2 separate regions of the Homo sapiens genome follow, and region 2 is linked to region 1. The links are contacts of gene promoters, found by promoter capture Hi-C in human tissues and cell types (Jung and others, 2019). All regions are on one chromosome and are shown on one strand. Each heading gives the region's core, a stretch centred on a gene start or on the middle of the fragment in contact. The rest is flanking DNA. Distances are from core to core; before and after follow the strand shown. Region 1 holds the start of VPS39 (VPS39 subunit of HOPS complex). Region 2 overlaps STARD9 (StAR related lipid transfer domain containing 9).

Region 1 (7,858 bases), core at 3,421-5,920:
TCTGCCTCCAAAAAAAAAATTAATTAAAAAAATAAAATGTCTATTCTACTGGTCATAAAAGGGAATCAATCCGATGGATTAAATTCTCTGTAAACTTTTAAATCAACCTGATTGATTACATGTGCCATTAGCCAGAGGACCTGTCCCATGTTGGGTCCTCCACTCTCTAGGACACGTTATTTAACAAAGCTGTGCATGCACAACACAGAGGATGACAAGCCTGCAGAGCACGCGCAGCATGGGATGGACAGTGCCTTCTGAGACTCAATACAGTAACACACAACAGAAAGTGAGACATACTAAGCAAACACAAAACGCACACATAAGCAAAGCAGTATCAGCCCTAAAAAACTCCTGACGGCCTAACCCTGAGCCACAAGGTTGGACTTAATTCCTCCTGAGAAGGAGGGCTAGGCCCTATTGCTCATAATTACCCTAATGGAGCTCCTTCCAACAGTGCAATGCAGTCCAACTTCATGTAATAAATTCCATTTCTGGCCCAATGCTGGCCACTGCAGGGACCACAAAGATAAGTAAGATAGTAGTCACTTCCCTTCGTTGGGTAACATGGCAAATAACAGTACTTCTCATCTGGGCATAAGCCCCCAATTAGCTGCATTAGAATCACCTGGACTTATTAAAAATGCACATTCCTGGGCCCTGCACATGGAGATTCAGATTCAATGGCTTTGAAGTGGTACCCTGAAATTTACATTTTAAAATTTAATCTTGTTGGCTGGGCAAAGTGGCTCACGCCTGTAATCCCAGCACTTTGGGAGGCCGAGGTGGGCGGATCACCTCAGGTCAGGCGTTTGAGACCAGCCTGGCCAACATGACGAAACCCCGTCTCTACTAAAACTACAAAAATAAGCCAGGTATGGTGGTGGGTGGCAGTAATCCTAACTACTCGGGAGGCTGAGGCACGACAGTGGCTTGTACCTGGGAGGCAGAGGTTGCAGTGAGCTGAGATTGCACCACTGCACTTCAGCCTGGGCGACAGAGCGAGACTCAGTCTCAAAAAATAATAATGAAATAAAATAAAATAAAATAAAATTAAATTAAATTTTATTTGTTTTTATGAAACATTCATGTAGTTCCAAAGCTAAAACGACGAAAAGTCTAGTTTCTATCATTGTCCATTTTATCCTCTCTTCTCCCTTCTGCTATGGGCATCATTTTAGTAATTTTTGACTTATCTTTCCATTGTTTCTCTGGAAAATATAGGTATGTATGTATATATAGACATACAGATACTCATATATACATGTGAAGTCTGCATTTTTTACAGGCTTTGAATATACATTCAAGTTTGAGAACCAGGCTCTAGAAGCAGACATGATTTACAGGACATGTGACCTTGGAAAAATTTCTTAAATTTTCTAAGCCTTAGGTCTTTCTTCTGTAAAATGGAGTCTTATTTTATAAAAGCCTAATACAGATTAGCATTTAACAACTGCAAGCTATTACTATTCATATTAACATTATTCATTAAATATATATTTAATGAATACCCATTGAGTCAGGAAATGTTTTAGGTACTGCAGATATAGCAATGCAGAAAACAAAGATACTGCCCTGAGGGAACTTATATTCTAATGTGGAGTGAGAGAGGCAATAATAATTAAATATATAAAATAACAGTAGATGGTGACCCATGATTAGAAGATAAGGCTAAGAAAACAGCACATTGGTGGATGTGGCAATCTCTTTTATATAGGATACACAGGGAAGGTTTTGCTGATTTGGGTGACATTTCAGCAGAGAACTGAGTGAAATGAGGAATGAACCATATATACAAAGGCAAGTGAGTGCCAGGCCAAGGAAACAGCAAATGTAAAGGCCCTGAGGTGGGTATGTGCTTTGTGCATTGATGGAACAAAGAAGGCTGTGTGGGACTGGTACCAGAAAGGAGTGAGAGGTAAGTACACAGAAGACAGGGAAGAAATCAGGGCCTGATCATGTCAGATGTTGCCAGACAGGGTGAAAACTTTGGAACTTATTCTAGTTGTGATGTGATACCATGAGAGGGTTTTGAGTAGAGGATGGAATCAGATTTAGGTTTTCAAAGTTTCACTCTACCTGGTAGACAAAAAACTGAAAATGGCACACTGGCAAATATAGGGTGATCAATGAGAAGACTACTACAGTAATTCAGGTGACAGATGATGGTGCCTTCAAGAGTAGTAATCATCAAGATAGAGAGAAATGACTGGATTTCAGATTTATTCTAGGGGTAGAACACACAAGATTTGCTGATAGATGGGATACAGTGTAAAACAGAATGAAAGAAGTCAAGAACGATTCCAAAGCTTTTGGCTTTAGTCAAAGAGGTAAATAGAAATGCCACTTGCTGAGACGTAAGATACAGGAGGACAGGCATGTTTGAGGGGAGAGGAATCAAGAACGGTTTTGGCTATGCTACTGGACATCCAAATGAAGATGCTGAAAAGGCAGCAGGATTATACAACTTTGGAGTTTAGAAAGAAATCATCCTCATCATGTTCTCTCCTGATTTCTATTTCCCAGGAGACAGAGTATGTTGTCTCTAAGACATTTACACCTCAAATACTATTTGGCCCTGTGTGACCTGCCTCTGGAAGTTCCTGGACGAACTTTCCATCCAAAGGCACAATGTAGTTAAAAAGGGGTAATGACTAGAAAGAGCAATAATTACTGCTGCTCAAATCTGGAAATAAAGCACTTTTGAAGCAGGAGGCAGTTAATGGCCTCTTGTAACCTAATATGTACCTAAGCACCTTAGGAACCAAAGAGCATTTCTCCTGTTCGGTGGGTGATCAAGGAAGGCCAAAAGCTACCTATTGTTTCAAAACTGTGTTCCTGAAAACCACAGGTGCAAGGAATCTTTACTGTGACAAAGTGGAGTTGGTGAGAGTCTAGGAGCACTATGTGCTAATGGTCCAACAGGAGATCAGAGTCAAGGATTCTGACGAGCTAAGTCAAGTGTAGCCACAGCTGCATTAATCCCTTTCAGAAACATATGTCCTTAGCTGAGTTGGGTACCCCCTCATCCATGTTGCAATAATAGGCAGCATATGTCTCTAGTATTATAATCTGTTCACGTGTATTTGTCCCCCAGTGTGTGTCCTAGGAGCACAGGCACTGTTTCTTATTCATCATTGTATTACTGTCCCAAGCAAAGAGAATGGCCCGTGTAGCCACCTAATAAGTATATCTGATGAAGCAATGGGGGAATTAATCCTTTCATGCAGTGTCAGGTCTTTCATTTAAAAACTTTTTCTCCTCCTCTATTTAAATGTTTAATGAGAGCATTTAATGACAGAAATTGGTTTTCTTGAGATGTCTGGAGGAAGTAGGATTCTCCTCTTAACCCAAAGGACTAGAACTGCTTACTGTGGAGGTATGATTTTAAAGAGACCCAGAGCTGCTAAAGGAGGAAGGGTGCACATTAACATGAAAATTCTTCGTGAAAGAACCCTACAGAAGAAGTCATCAAGAACTCTGCAAGGATGACTCGGTGACACTGTGAACAGCTGACGCACATGGTATCAGACACCACCAAGATTCCATAAGGCCCATCATGGTTACCTATCTAGCTCAGTATAAGATCTGATTAAGGGATCTGAATCATCTTTTTATGGTCCTTGATTTCTAGGACCTAAACATTAAGAGGAAAGTTAGAAATGATTTCCTTGGTCTTTGGCGGCTGGTATCAAACCAGTCACTCACGGATAAGAGCACAATGTTCACCGTTATCCCTGAAACCTTCATTTGTATTTCAGAGCACACAAGAGATGTCTGTCCCGGCCTTCTGCACTAGTCAATCCCAAAAGGACTATGCTAGTTTTTATGGGTTAGGTTTCAAGACAGTCTGGAAACTCTTCCGCCTACAGTTAGGTAACTTGGACACTTTGGATATAAGGTAATCAACCGCTTGGCTAGATTCAAAGGTTAGCTAACTACATGAGTTCCCTACAGGAATGAGAAATGAACGAATGATCACTAAGGGGAAAAAAAAGCATATGGTGTTAACTTGTTCAATGCCCCCAAAACCAGGGTTGACTTTCATCTAGAAAACAACACAAACATCTGGACAACTTCAAGCCCCTGGCAGGCTGAGAACTTCTTACTGCTTTGACCCTCTAAAATGAAGTCTTCGTGGGAATCAAAATGGGCCAAAGCTGAGCACAACTAAAAAGGAAAGCTCATCCTCCCACTCTGCACAGAGAGCAAAAGCAAGGGGAACTCCCCTAAATGACTGGATCACTGGGATCACCCAAGTAGCCCCACAGACATCGATGTCTATAGCCGGTGGTCATCTCTCTGCCTTCTCTCATCCTAAGCCCCTCTCGTGTAGCATCCAACCGAAGCCCACACGGATGGACGCCTGTCCACTTCCCCGGCCTCAGAAAAGATCCGGACCGCTCCTGTGCTGACTCCGCCTCGGCCCCGCGGCCCCTCGGCTCACCCCAGGCAGCCAGACAGTCGATTTGCAGAGGCAGCTTTTCTAGGATCGGCACTGGCTCGAAAGCGTCGTGCATGGCGGCAAGGGGAGAGTTGCCACCGCCGTCTCGCCCAGAGTGTTCCGGGCCGGGCTGGGGTCCGGAACGAGTCTGGGCTAAGGGTAGACCGGGATCCGGCCAGGAACCCCCCGGCTACAGGCCCTTCAACAACACAGCCATCGTCAACCCCGGACTTCCTGCTAGTTAGGCCCGCCTCTTCCGCAGCCGAAGTCCCGCCCCTTCCTCCCGGTGCACTCTAAATGAATTGTTTTGTTGCTGAGTTGCCATCGTCACTCTGGACCCATAGCTACTCCATCCCGAGTAGCCATGGGCTTACCATAGAAGGAACAAACTCTTAATCTTAGAACTGCTTTAGGCAGTGGGCGTGATGGTTAAAAACTCGGCCTTTGGCGTCGACCTCAGACGGAGATCTACCAATTAGGAAATTAGCTGTGATTTAGAAAATTTAATATTTCGATGCCATACTTTCCTAATCTGCAAAATTTTTGTAAATACCTGTGACCTAGTGTCGTGAGCGCTTAGCAACACCTGACACCCACTAAGCTCTCAGTAAGTGGTAGCTTTAGTATTACCATTATATCCCAATTAGTACAAGCACCTTACCTTAATGCTTTCATGGTTGTTCTAGGCCAGTGGTTCTGAAAGTGGTTCTAGACCAGCAACAACAGCAGTAGCAGCAGCACCTGTGAACTTGTTAGAAATGCAAAGTTTCAGGCCCATTCCAGTTCTACTGAATCTGAAACTCGAAGGGAACAGCAACCTATGTTTTAATAAACCCCAAGGTGAGTCCATGCACTTAAAAGCTTGAGAACCACCATTTTAGGTTAGGGTTGTTCAGCGATAGCACTACCGGCATTTAGGACAGGATAATTTCTTGTTGGGGGAGGGGGCATGTTCTGTACAATGTAAGATGTTTAACAGCATCCCTAACTTCCACCCACCAAATGCCAGTTATCTTCCCCACAGAGGTATAAAAATGTCTCTTTTCCGTATGTCCTCTGGGAGGCAAAATTACCCTGAGAACCACCATTTGAGGCCAATGCTTTTCAAATTTAACGTGCATACAAATCACCTAGAGACATTGTTAAAATGCCTCTTTTGATTCAGTAGGACCAGAGTAAGACCCTCAGTTGAGCACCAAAAATCTCCCAGATGTTGCTGGTCCCTGGATCACATTTTGAGTAGCAAGAGTTTAGGCAAGAGATGATTCACTAACTCTTGGAAGTCAGTGAAATAAGCCTCCTTTTAATTTGATGACCACATTCCTACCAATTCAACTTTCCAAAGCTGTGTCTTACATCCTAATATTCCTTTAGGAAGGTGTCATGGCTTTTCCTCCTATAGGACCTGGGACCTGTACTGTCTGCGGTTACCTTAGTATTCCCCTTGAAGACTTAAAAAACAACAAAGTTTGGGCTGCAAGAATGATCTATATCTGGTCATTTCCCCCTAGGAAAACATCGTAGGTCAAAAAATTAAGCATTTGGGTTTAAAGCAAAAATGTAAAAGAAAAAGGGTAAGTCTGTGATATGAAGTCAAAAAAACTGGTCCTGGTCATTTTATTTTTACACAATATCAGTTTCTTCATATGTAAATTAGGAATACTTGTCCCATCTTTACCAAATGCTGTTCTGATAATCAAGTGAAAAGTACTTTCAAGTAGTCAAAAACATGAAAATTGCTACACAAATCCTGTGTTATAGCTGATTTTCACCATAGAAGCTGATCACCTTCTTAAAAATTTAGAATTACCAGCTGTTGTGCTGGAAGGTCTAGTACCTTTTCGTTCAGGCCCAAAACCCTAAGGTTTATATTGTTTTACAGATTACTGCAAAGCTATCAATTTCTTCTGAACCTAAGAAATGACACACTATATCTATTCCCAGTAATACAGAAAGCTGTAAGTAGAATTATCAGGGCCCAGGCTATAGAACTTGAACTATACACTCCCGCTTAACACAATGGGCTTTTTTTTTTCCTAGTCTCAAGTCAACATCAAAGCAGCCTAAAAAAATAATTTGACCAACTATCCTGCTGCATTACAACTATTATTCATCTGCTACGTTTTAATATGCAATAGCAGCATGCAACAATACCACCAGCTTTTGGCTAATGACTTAGCATGAGAATATAGTCAGTTCTTCAGATTGCTGTTCCTCAGAGATACTTCCTAGGAAACTTTTTTAAAAATCACCATAGCAAAGAGTTGTAGAGAAACTACCTAAGGGTTAACACTTTCACTGCAGTATGAGTTAGTGAAGATTGTGGTCATGTGGTCATTGGTTTTAACAGAAAATAAGACAATCTAGAATAAAAGCCATAGAAAGAAATTTTTCATGAGTTTGACAGAAAGAGTCTTTAGAAAAAGTTTGAAAAAAATGAGAAAAATACATTAATTTTGTTAAATTTTTTTATATTAAAAAGTGGCATGAACTTTTTATGTAGAACAAAAATCTTGGGAAGGCAAAATTGGATAAAACCATTAAAACAGAAATAGAGTGCTTCAAATGAATCCCATCACCTTGTGATGTCCCTTATTAACAGTCTCTAAACCAATACCAGATACCAGAACAGTCCATCCTAAAGAACGAGCAGCAGTCCAGGGCCTCCACGCTACTTCATGCAATAACTGTTTAAATTAAGCCAGCAGGACCTGTTTCCTTTGTATAAGCTACAACTTCTGAAGCATTACAGTTCCTCTAGCACGGTGCTCAATCACAGCACTTGGAGCACCTCTCTGCATAAAGGCAAACAAAACATTGCCTAAGGACCCTGCAATGCCACCCTTGGAGGCTTACAAAACAGTAGTTAAAAGTTTCGGAGTGTGCACCACATTGCCAGCAATGGGATGTGTCACAATAGCAGATGTCAAAAGAGTTAAGCTAATATTTCTCTTTAAAGTACATCTGAAATAGAAAAATCTTTAATATACACCATTTGTAAACAAAATTGCACTTGATTTTGCTTTTTTAAATGATCTGAATCATACTGTAACAGTTTCTCTTTTTTTTTTTTTCTTTTGATCATTGATAGAACTATGGCTCCTTAACTCAGAAGGGCCCTTTTTTCTCAAAACAACCTCTGCAAGATGTAACCTTGACTTCCCAGGAAAATGAAAGGTAGTTAACAATTTCCCCCATCACCTATGTAACTCCCTAAATAAATAAAAATTACAGGCAGTTGCTCCTGGAGATTACATATTATGGTGTTGATGACAATCTTTTAGAAGACGTTAAACTTTTTAGTTTGTCAGATTTAAAAAATGAAACATTACAGAAAGTTCAGGAACAACACACTTAAGTTGCATGAACATCCATGTCAGAGTCTGGGAGGAAAGGGGGCAGCAGTGTTGTAAA
Region 2 (7,858 bases), core at 2,242-4,741, 450 kb after region 1:
AGATTCTCTGGAACAGTTGGGAAGGCCTTTGGGACTTGGTCAGTAACCAGCCATGAAGATTTACTTTCATGCCCGTAGGCTCCTCTTCACCTATCTAAAGCCTCCCCATTCTATAGTGGCTAAATTTAAGTCTCACTTCTTCTGTGGAACCTGTCCTGACCACGCCTCTGATCTCCTCATCATGTATCATCTTTCCAACTCCTGTGGCACTTGGCCATATTGTCTTGTGTAGTGTAACTTACCATGATTGTAAACTGTGGGAGGACAGAGATGAGTGTACTGTGTATTTTGTATGCCAAACCGAGTCTGCCACCTTGTGGGGAAAACAACACTGGCCTACCTCAGGGACTTTGTGAGGGCCAAATGAGAACAGTTCTTATAACCTATATAGCAGAACTGTAAGGAATTATAGTTGTTGTTAGCATATGGTCTATATGACTTATAGACCATAATCTCTGTGAGGACAGAGACCTATATTCCTAGAGTCTATCATATACCTGACAAGAGGTTTCCAATAAATATTTCTTGATTTAATTTATTATCTGAATGAATTTGGCCAGATTCCCTCATTTTTGTCTATTAAACAATATGAAATAGGAATGATAAAGACTTACAAGAAAAGGTTAAAGTTTACCAAAAATCTCATTTAATTTCTTTTTTCCGTTTCACAAATCCGATAGGTTTATCTCAACATGTAGTTACCAATTATAAGCAAGTAATCCAACTCTTGGAGGAGGGAATTGCAAACAGGTAACAGGTTTGTTTGTTTCTGTCATTCTTTTATCCTCACACTCCTATCCTGTGTTCCCATTTCCCTTTGGGGAGTGTATAATGACACTTAAAATTGTCTCTGTGTGTAGAGATGTTCACAACCAGGAGGCTCTTCCCAGAACAATAGTGTTCACAGGGTAAGGGGTGGTGACTAAGATTTAGTCTCTTCTCACTAGTAATGAAGCTGGAATCTGTTCTGGACATAATAATATTAGGCAGTAAGCCCAAGGAAGTTACTCTATATTTTGTTTAGAGCTTCTAAATTTGGAAGAAAGGGTTCTTACCTGCATTGTCCTCTCCTCAGGTTTGATAGATATAAGGATGAATATAGTGTAAAAGGTTCATAAAAACATTTTTTTCTAGTTTTGCATACTTATAAGGTAGCCCCTCAAAAGACTGTTTTGAATCTGCTATGAATAACTAGGTGCTGTAGATTCCCCTAAAAGCTATTGTAAATTGTAATAACATTTCATGTTGTAAGTTACTATGAAATACCTAGAATATTACTAGTAAATGTCCCTAAAAAAGGCTTTTTTTTTCTGGGGTAAAAAGGTCTTTAGAGCCTTCTATTTATCCTGTTAATAGCAGGACCAAGTTAATTGAACATAAAGGAAGAAATTTAAATTTAACATTCTCCTGAGCTTCATGGAACTCTCCTGGAGACACTTACTTCTGGTCTTCAGGGTACCCTGAGCTCCATGATTTTTCAGTGTCAGGCTTGAATCATGAGACTAGCCTCTAGATTTTGGCCCTTTTCTTCAATTCTCCAGATCCTCTGAGAACAGAGCTCAGTGAGATGCTCTTAGATAAAGGAAAACCTCTCCTGACTTTAAGGGTTAACACTGTAATGGATTTCTAAGGGAGACTGTGAATTCCGCCTGGCTTAAGCATGATATTGATGTGATTTAAGATCTCATTTCCAAGATCTTTCTGACACTGTAGAATTAATATTCTGTGTTTAATCAAAACTTACCTTCTCTGTCTTTGAGGTATCTTCTCTAGCAAGCTTTCTACATCCACTTGTCTTATTAAAATGACTCCAAGAATAAAATAAAATAAAGTGAAAGAATAAAATAAAATGGGTCTATCTTGGGCATGTTCTTCCAGGATGATGACGCTCTAGTCTTCATTTCCCTTTTCACTTGAATTTTTGCTTCTATTGCTTAAAAAAAAAAAGTTTCAGTGTAGTTTAGTATGAAGCTACACTCCGTTTTATGCTCAGATATCAGCACCTAGAGTGCTGCTTCTGCCCTCTTTGGACTATTCTCTTCACGATACTGGACTAAATATGTGTGTTTTATGATTCTTGTCGGTGAACCTCAGCACTAACATTTCTTGTATTCTGTATGGATCCTTAAGAATCCACCATGTGTAAACAATCCTCGTCCTAACAGTTTTTCCTTGTATACACAGAATCACAGCAGCCACCCATGTTCATGAGGCCAGCAGCAGATCCCACGCCATTTTCACGATCCACTACACGCAGGTTGGTAACTCCTTATGTTTGGTGAGATTTCTTCCTCTCCTTGTACCTTTAAACCACTTTCTTGTCTTCCTTCCTATTTCTTTTTTTGTTTGTTGGTTTTTGAGACAGGGTCTCAGTCTGTTGCCCAGACTGGAGTGCAGTGGCGCGATCTCGGCTCACCTGAACCTCTGCCTCCCAGGCTCAAACAATTCTCCTGCCTCAGCCTCCCAAATAGCTGGGATTACAGGAGACGCCACCATGCCCGGCTAATTATTTTTTAATTTTTAGTAAAGACGGGGTTTCACCATGTTGGCCAGACTGGTCTCAAACTCCTGACCTCAGATGATCCACCTGGCTCGGCCTGCCTAAGTGCTGGCATTACAGATGGGAGCCATCGTTCCCGGCCCTGTTTCTTTTCCTTTCCTCCTACTCTCATATTTATAGGTCCTCTGATAGAACCTAATATTGTAAACCGGATTTACACACAATCCGTTAAGCTATACACCTAGAATGGGTAGAAGCATTTTATAAAGACTAATCAAAATATCTTCTGCTTATATTTATTTTTAACATTTTAAAACGCTTTCACATCGGTGTGATCAGTATGGACATTTAAAACAAAAGGTTGAAAAGAAAATAAGCATTAAAATGAAATATTAGAAGATTCACTTCCATTGTGATGGATTGAGGAGGTCAAGTCATATCCCCAAAAAGCAACTATAAAGCTGGACAAAATCCTTTCTGTGGTCTGAAAATAGATTAAAGGAATGTAACAAAGTGAGAAGTACCACACCCAAAATAAAATGATGACTAAAAACTTCCTAAATTTGTTGAAAATCATTTATAGATCTAAGAAGCTCAAAGGACTCCAAGTAAAATAAACACAAAGAGATCCACACCTAGACACATCATAGTTAAACTGTTGAAAGACAAAGAGAAAATCTTAAAAACAGCTAGAGAAAAGTGACTTATACAGTAGAACAATTACGTGATGAATGGCTGACTTCTCATCAGAAGCATTGAACCCTTAGAAGTCAGGGGGCTGAGATAATATAAAAAACTGGCAATAAGAACATTCCCAGATTGGAAAAATAAAAAGTAGAATTTATTGCCAGCAGACTTACCTGACAAGAAAACTAAATGAAATCTTCTAGGCTGAAAGAAAGTGATATTAGAAAGTATCTTAAATCTATAGGAGACAGTGAAATATCTGGGAATGATAAATGTGTGAGTAAATATAAAAAAAACCTACATTCTTTCTCGTTTCTTCTCCTAATGTCAATAAAAGAATAAGATTACATAAAACCACAATTGTAACAATGCATTTTTGTACATTGTCATATATGAAAATAACAGCACAAGGGAAATGAAAGGAGATATATTTAAGTAGAGTTACTATATTTTACAGGAATTAAGTTAGTATTATTTTAAAGTAGATCATAAATAAAGATATGTATTGTAATCTGTAGAGCAAGTACTAAGAAAATAGCTCAAAAATACAATTTTAAAAATCAACATTTCTTCTGCCTCCTCTGGGCAGAAAAAACAACAGAAATTAAAATGGTACATATTAATAAAAATACCTAACAGTTAAAGGCAGTGGAGGAAGAACAGAGGAACAAAGGAGATATGAGACACAGAAAAAAGAAAAATCAGACATGGATGGTTCTGAGCACATCAATAATTATTAAATACATTAAGTGTGAATTGCCTAAGGTACAAATTTTCAGATTGCATAAAAGCAAGACCCAACTACATGCTGTCTATAAGAAACACACCTTAGAATCACAGACACAGGTTGAAAGTAAAAGGATGGAAAAAGATATACCATAATAATAGTAACCATAAGTCCTAGCTAGAGTAATGAGACAAGAGAAAGAAATAAAGGGCATCCAGATCAGTAAAGAGGAAGTCAAACTGTTGCTGTTCGCTGACAACATGATTGTATACCTAGAAAACCCTAAAGACTTATCCAAAGAGCTCCTGGAACTGGTAAATGAATTCAGCGAAGTTTCAAGATACAAAATTAATGTACATGAATCAGTAGCTGTGCTATACACCAGCAGCAGACAAGCTGAGAATCAAATCAAGAACTCAACATTTTTTACAATAGCTGAAAAAAAAAAATACTTAGGCATACACTTAACCAAGGAGGTGAAAGACCTGTACAAGAAGAACTACAAAACACCGCTGAAAGAAATCATATATGACACAAACAAATGGAAACATATCTCATGCTCATGGATGGGTAGAATCAGTATTGTGAAAATGGCCATACTGCCTAAAGCAGTCTACAAATTCAATGCAATCCCCATCAAAATACCACCATCATTCTTCACAGAACTAGAAAAGACAGTCCTAAAATTCATATGGAACCAAAAAAGAGCCCACATAGCCAAAGCAAGACTAAGCAAAAAGAACAAATCTGGGCCAGGCGCAGTGGCTCATGCCTGTAATCCCAGCACTTTGGGAGGCCGAGGCAGGCGGATCACTTGAGGTCAGGAGTTTGAGACCAGCCTGGCCAACATGGTGAAACCCCTCTCTACTAAAAATAGAAAAAATTAGCTGGGCGTGATGGCAGGCACCTGTAATCCCAGCTATTCGGGAGGCTGAGGCAGGAGAATTGCTTGAACCTGGGAGGCAGAGGTTGCAGTGAGCTGAGATCACACCGCTGCACTCCAGCCTGGGCAACAGAGTGAGACTTCGTCTCAAAAACAACAACAAAACCAAATCTGGATGCATTACATTACCCAACTTCAAACTATACTATAAGGCCAATAGTTACCAAAACAGCATGGTACTGGGACAAAAACAGGCATATAGACCAATGGAACAGAATAGAAAATGCAGAAATAAAGCCAAATACTTGCAGTCAACCGATCTTTGACAAAGCAAACAAAAACGTAAAGTGGGGAAAGGACACCCTATTCAACAAATGGTGCTGGGATAATTGGCAAGCCACATGTAAGAGAATGACACTGGATCCTCATCTCCCACATTATACAAAAATCAACTCAAGATAGATGAAAGACTTACATATAAGACCTGAAACCATAAAAATTCTAGAAGATAACATTGGAAAAATCCTTCTAGACATTGGCTTAGGCAAAGACTTCATGAGCAAGAATCCAAAAGCAAATGCAACAAAAACAAAGAGAAATAGATGGGACTTAAATAAAACAAAAATCTTCTGCACAGCAAAAGAAATAATCAGCAAACAGCCCACAGAGTGGGAGAAAATATTTGCAATCTATGCATCCTACGAAGGACTAATATCCAGACTCTACAAGGAACTCAAACAAATCAGCAAGAAAAAAACAGTCCCATCAAAAAGTGGGCTAAGGACATGAATAAACAGTTCTCAAAAGAAGATATACAAATGGCAACAAACATAGGAAAAAAATGCTCAACATCACTGATTATCAGGGAAATGCAAATCAAAATCACAATGCAATACCACCTTACTCCTGCAAGAATGGCCATAATAAAAAAATCCAAAAAGAGGCTGGGTCAGTGGCTCACGCCTGTAATCCCAGCACTTTGGGAGTCTGAGGCAGGTGGATCACCTGAGGTCAGGTGTTCAAGACCAGCCTGGCCCACATGGCGAAATGCTGTATCTACTAAAAATAAAAAAATTTGCTGTTGCGCTCCTGTAGTCCCAGCTACTCACGAGGCTGAAGCTGGAGAATTGCTTGAACCTGGGAGGCAGAGGTTGCAGTGAGCCGAGATCATGCCACTGCACTCCAGCCATCTCCTAAAAAAAAAAAAAAAAAAAAAAAAAAAAAAAAAAAAAAAAGATGTTGCCGTGGATATGGTGAAAAGGGAACGCTTTTACACTGTTGATGGGAATATAAACTAGTATCACCATTATGGAAAACAGTGTGGAGATTCCTTAAAGAACTACAGGTAGATTTACCCAGAGGAAAAGAAGTCGTTATATGAAAAAGATACTTGCACATGCATGTTTTAGCAGCACAATTCACATTTGCAAAAATACAGAACCAGCCCAAATGTCCGTCAATGAGTGGTTAAAGAAAATGTGGTGTATGTATACTGTGGAATACATTCAGCCGTGAAAAGGCACCAAATAATAGCATTTGCAGCAACCTGGATGGAATTGGAGACCATTATTCTAAGTTAAGTGTCTCAGGAATGGAAAACCAAACGTATCTTCTCACTCATAAATGGGAGCTAAACTATGAGGACACAAAGGCATAAGAATGATACAAAGGCATAAGGACACATAGGCATAAGGACGCAACAGCATAAGAATGAACTTTGGGGACTTGTGGGAAAGGGGGGTGAGGGATAAAAGACTACACATTGGGTACAGGGTACACTGTTTGGGTGATGGGTGCACCAATATTTCAGAAATCACCACTAAAGAACTTATTCATGTAACCAGACACCATCTGTTCCTCCAAAACCTATTGAAATTTTTAAAAAAGTAAGCATAAGAGAGCTGGAGTGGTATTTTAATGTCAGGCAAAAAATAGGTTTTAAGGCTGGGCGTGGTGGCTCAAGCCTGTAATCCCAGCACTTTGGGAAGCCGAGGTGGATGGATCGCCTGACGTTAGGAGTTTGAGACCAGCCTGGCCAACATGGTGAAACCCCGTCTCTACTAAAAATACAAAAAAAATTAGCCAGGCATGGTGGTGAGCGCTTGTAGTCCCAGCTACTCAGAAGGCTGAGGCAGGAGAATCACTTGAATCCAGGAGGCAGAGGTTGCAGTGAGCTGAGATCGTACCATCACACTCCAGCCTGGGCAACAAGAGTGAGATTCCGTCTCAAAAAAAAAAAAAAAGGTTTTAAGACAAATACTAGAGACAGGAATATTTCATAATGATAAAGGGTCAGTCAGTACATTGAAGAAATACAACATTTATAAATGTATGCACCCTGAACAACCAAACCTCAAAATACATGAAAACACTGATGGAATTGAAAGATTAAAATAGACAGTTCAACAATGGTTGGATATTTCAGTACCTAATTTCCAGTAGTAGGTAGATAACCAAACAGAAATCAGTGAGGAAATAGAAGATTTGAGCAACATTATCAAACTATGTGACCTGACATTTTCAGAACACTTCATCCAACATCACAGAATACACATATTTTCAAGTGCACACGGAGCATTCTCTGAGATAAACCCTATGCTTCCTGAAGCTAAAGTAACCAAGATAGTGTGGTGTTAGTGTTAAGATAAATAGATTACTGGAATAGAATAGAGTCCAAAATAGACTCACACATATATAGGCAACTGATTTTTAATAAAGTTGCAAAGGCAATTCAGTGGAGAAAATATGTTTTCAGCAAATGGTGGGAGAACAATTGGATGTCTATATGAAAAAAAGAACTTTGATCTATATTTTGCACTTTATCGAAAAGTTAACTCATATTGAATCATAGCTCTAAATGGGAAACCTGAAACTATTAAACTTTAGAACATAACTTAGGAGAACCTTTGTGATTCTTGATTAGGCGAAGGTTTTATAGATATGGCACTAAAAACACAAATTGAACAGAAGTACAAATTGAAATCGAGTTAATCACAATTTCAAACTTTTGTACTTTTATAATTTTTTTTTGAGACAGGGTCACACTCTGTCACCCAGGCTA

The links. Contacts are between HindIII fragments. The study calls those that stand out against the background at their distance.
Region 2: a contact is called between a fragment that was not itself captured here and the fragment with the promoter of VPS39 in region 1, in 1 of the 25 tissues and cell types used here (lymphoblastoid cells).

The regions. Positions count from the first base shown.
Region 1 is chr15:42,203,634-42,211,491 of GRCh38, forward strand. It overlaps VPS39 (VPS39 subunit of HOPS complex), which reads right to left and starts at 4,671. Exons shown (of 25, transcript NM_015289.5): 1 at 4,448-4,671. The coding sequence starts at 4,520. It overlaps VPS39-DT (VPS39 divergent transcript), which reads left to right and starts at 4,768. Exons shown (of 3, transcript XR_932181.3): 1 at 4,768-5,051; 2 at 5,131-5,284. It overlaps TMEM87A (transmembrane protein 87A), which reads right to left. Exons shown (of 20, transcript NM_015497.5): 20 at 6,814-7,858. The HindIII fragment of the contact is 8,677 bases long and covers 1-7,858 here.
Region 2 is chr15:42,650,336-42,658,193 of GRCh38, forward strand. STARD9 (StAR related lipid transfer domain containing 9) reads left to right here. Exons shown (of 33, transcript NM_020759.3): 8 at 681-750; 9 at 2,185-2,257. Among named protein-coding and RNA genes, the nearest start is that of STARD9, 79 kb to the left of the region's middle. The HindIII fragment of the contact is 8,421 bases long and covers 1-7,702 here.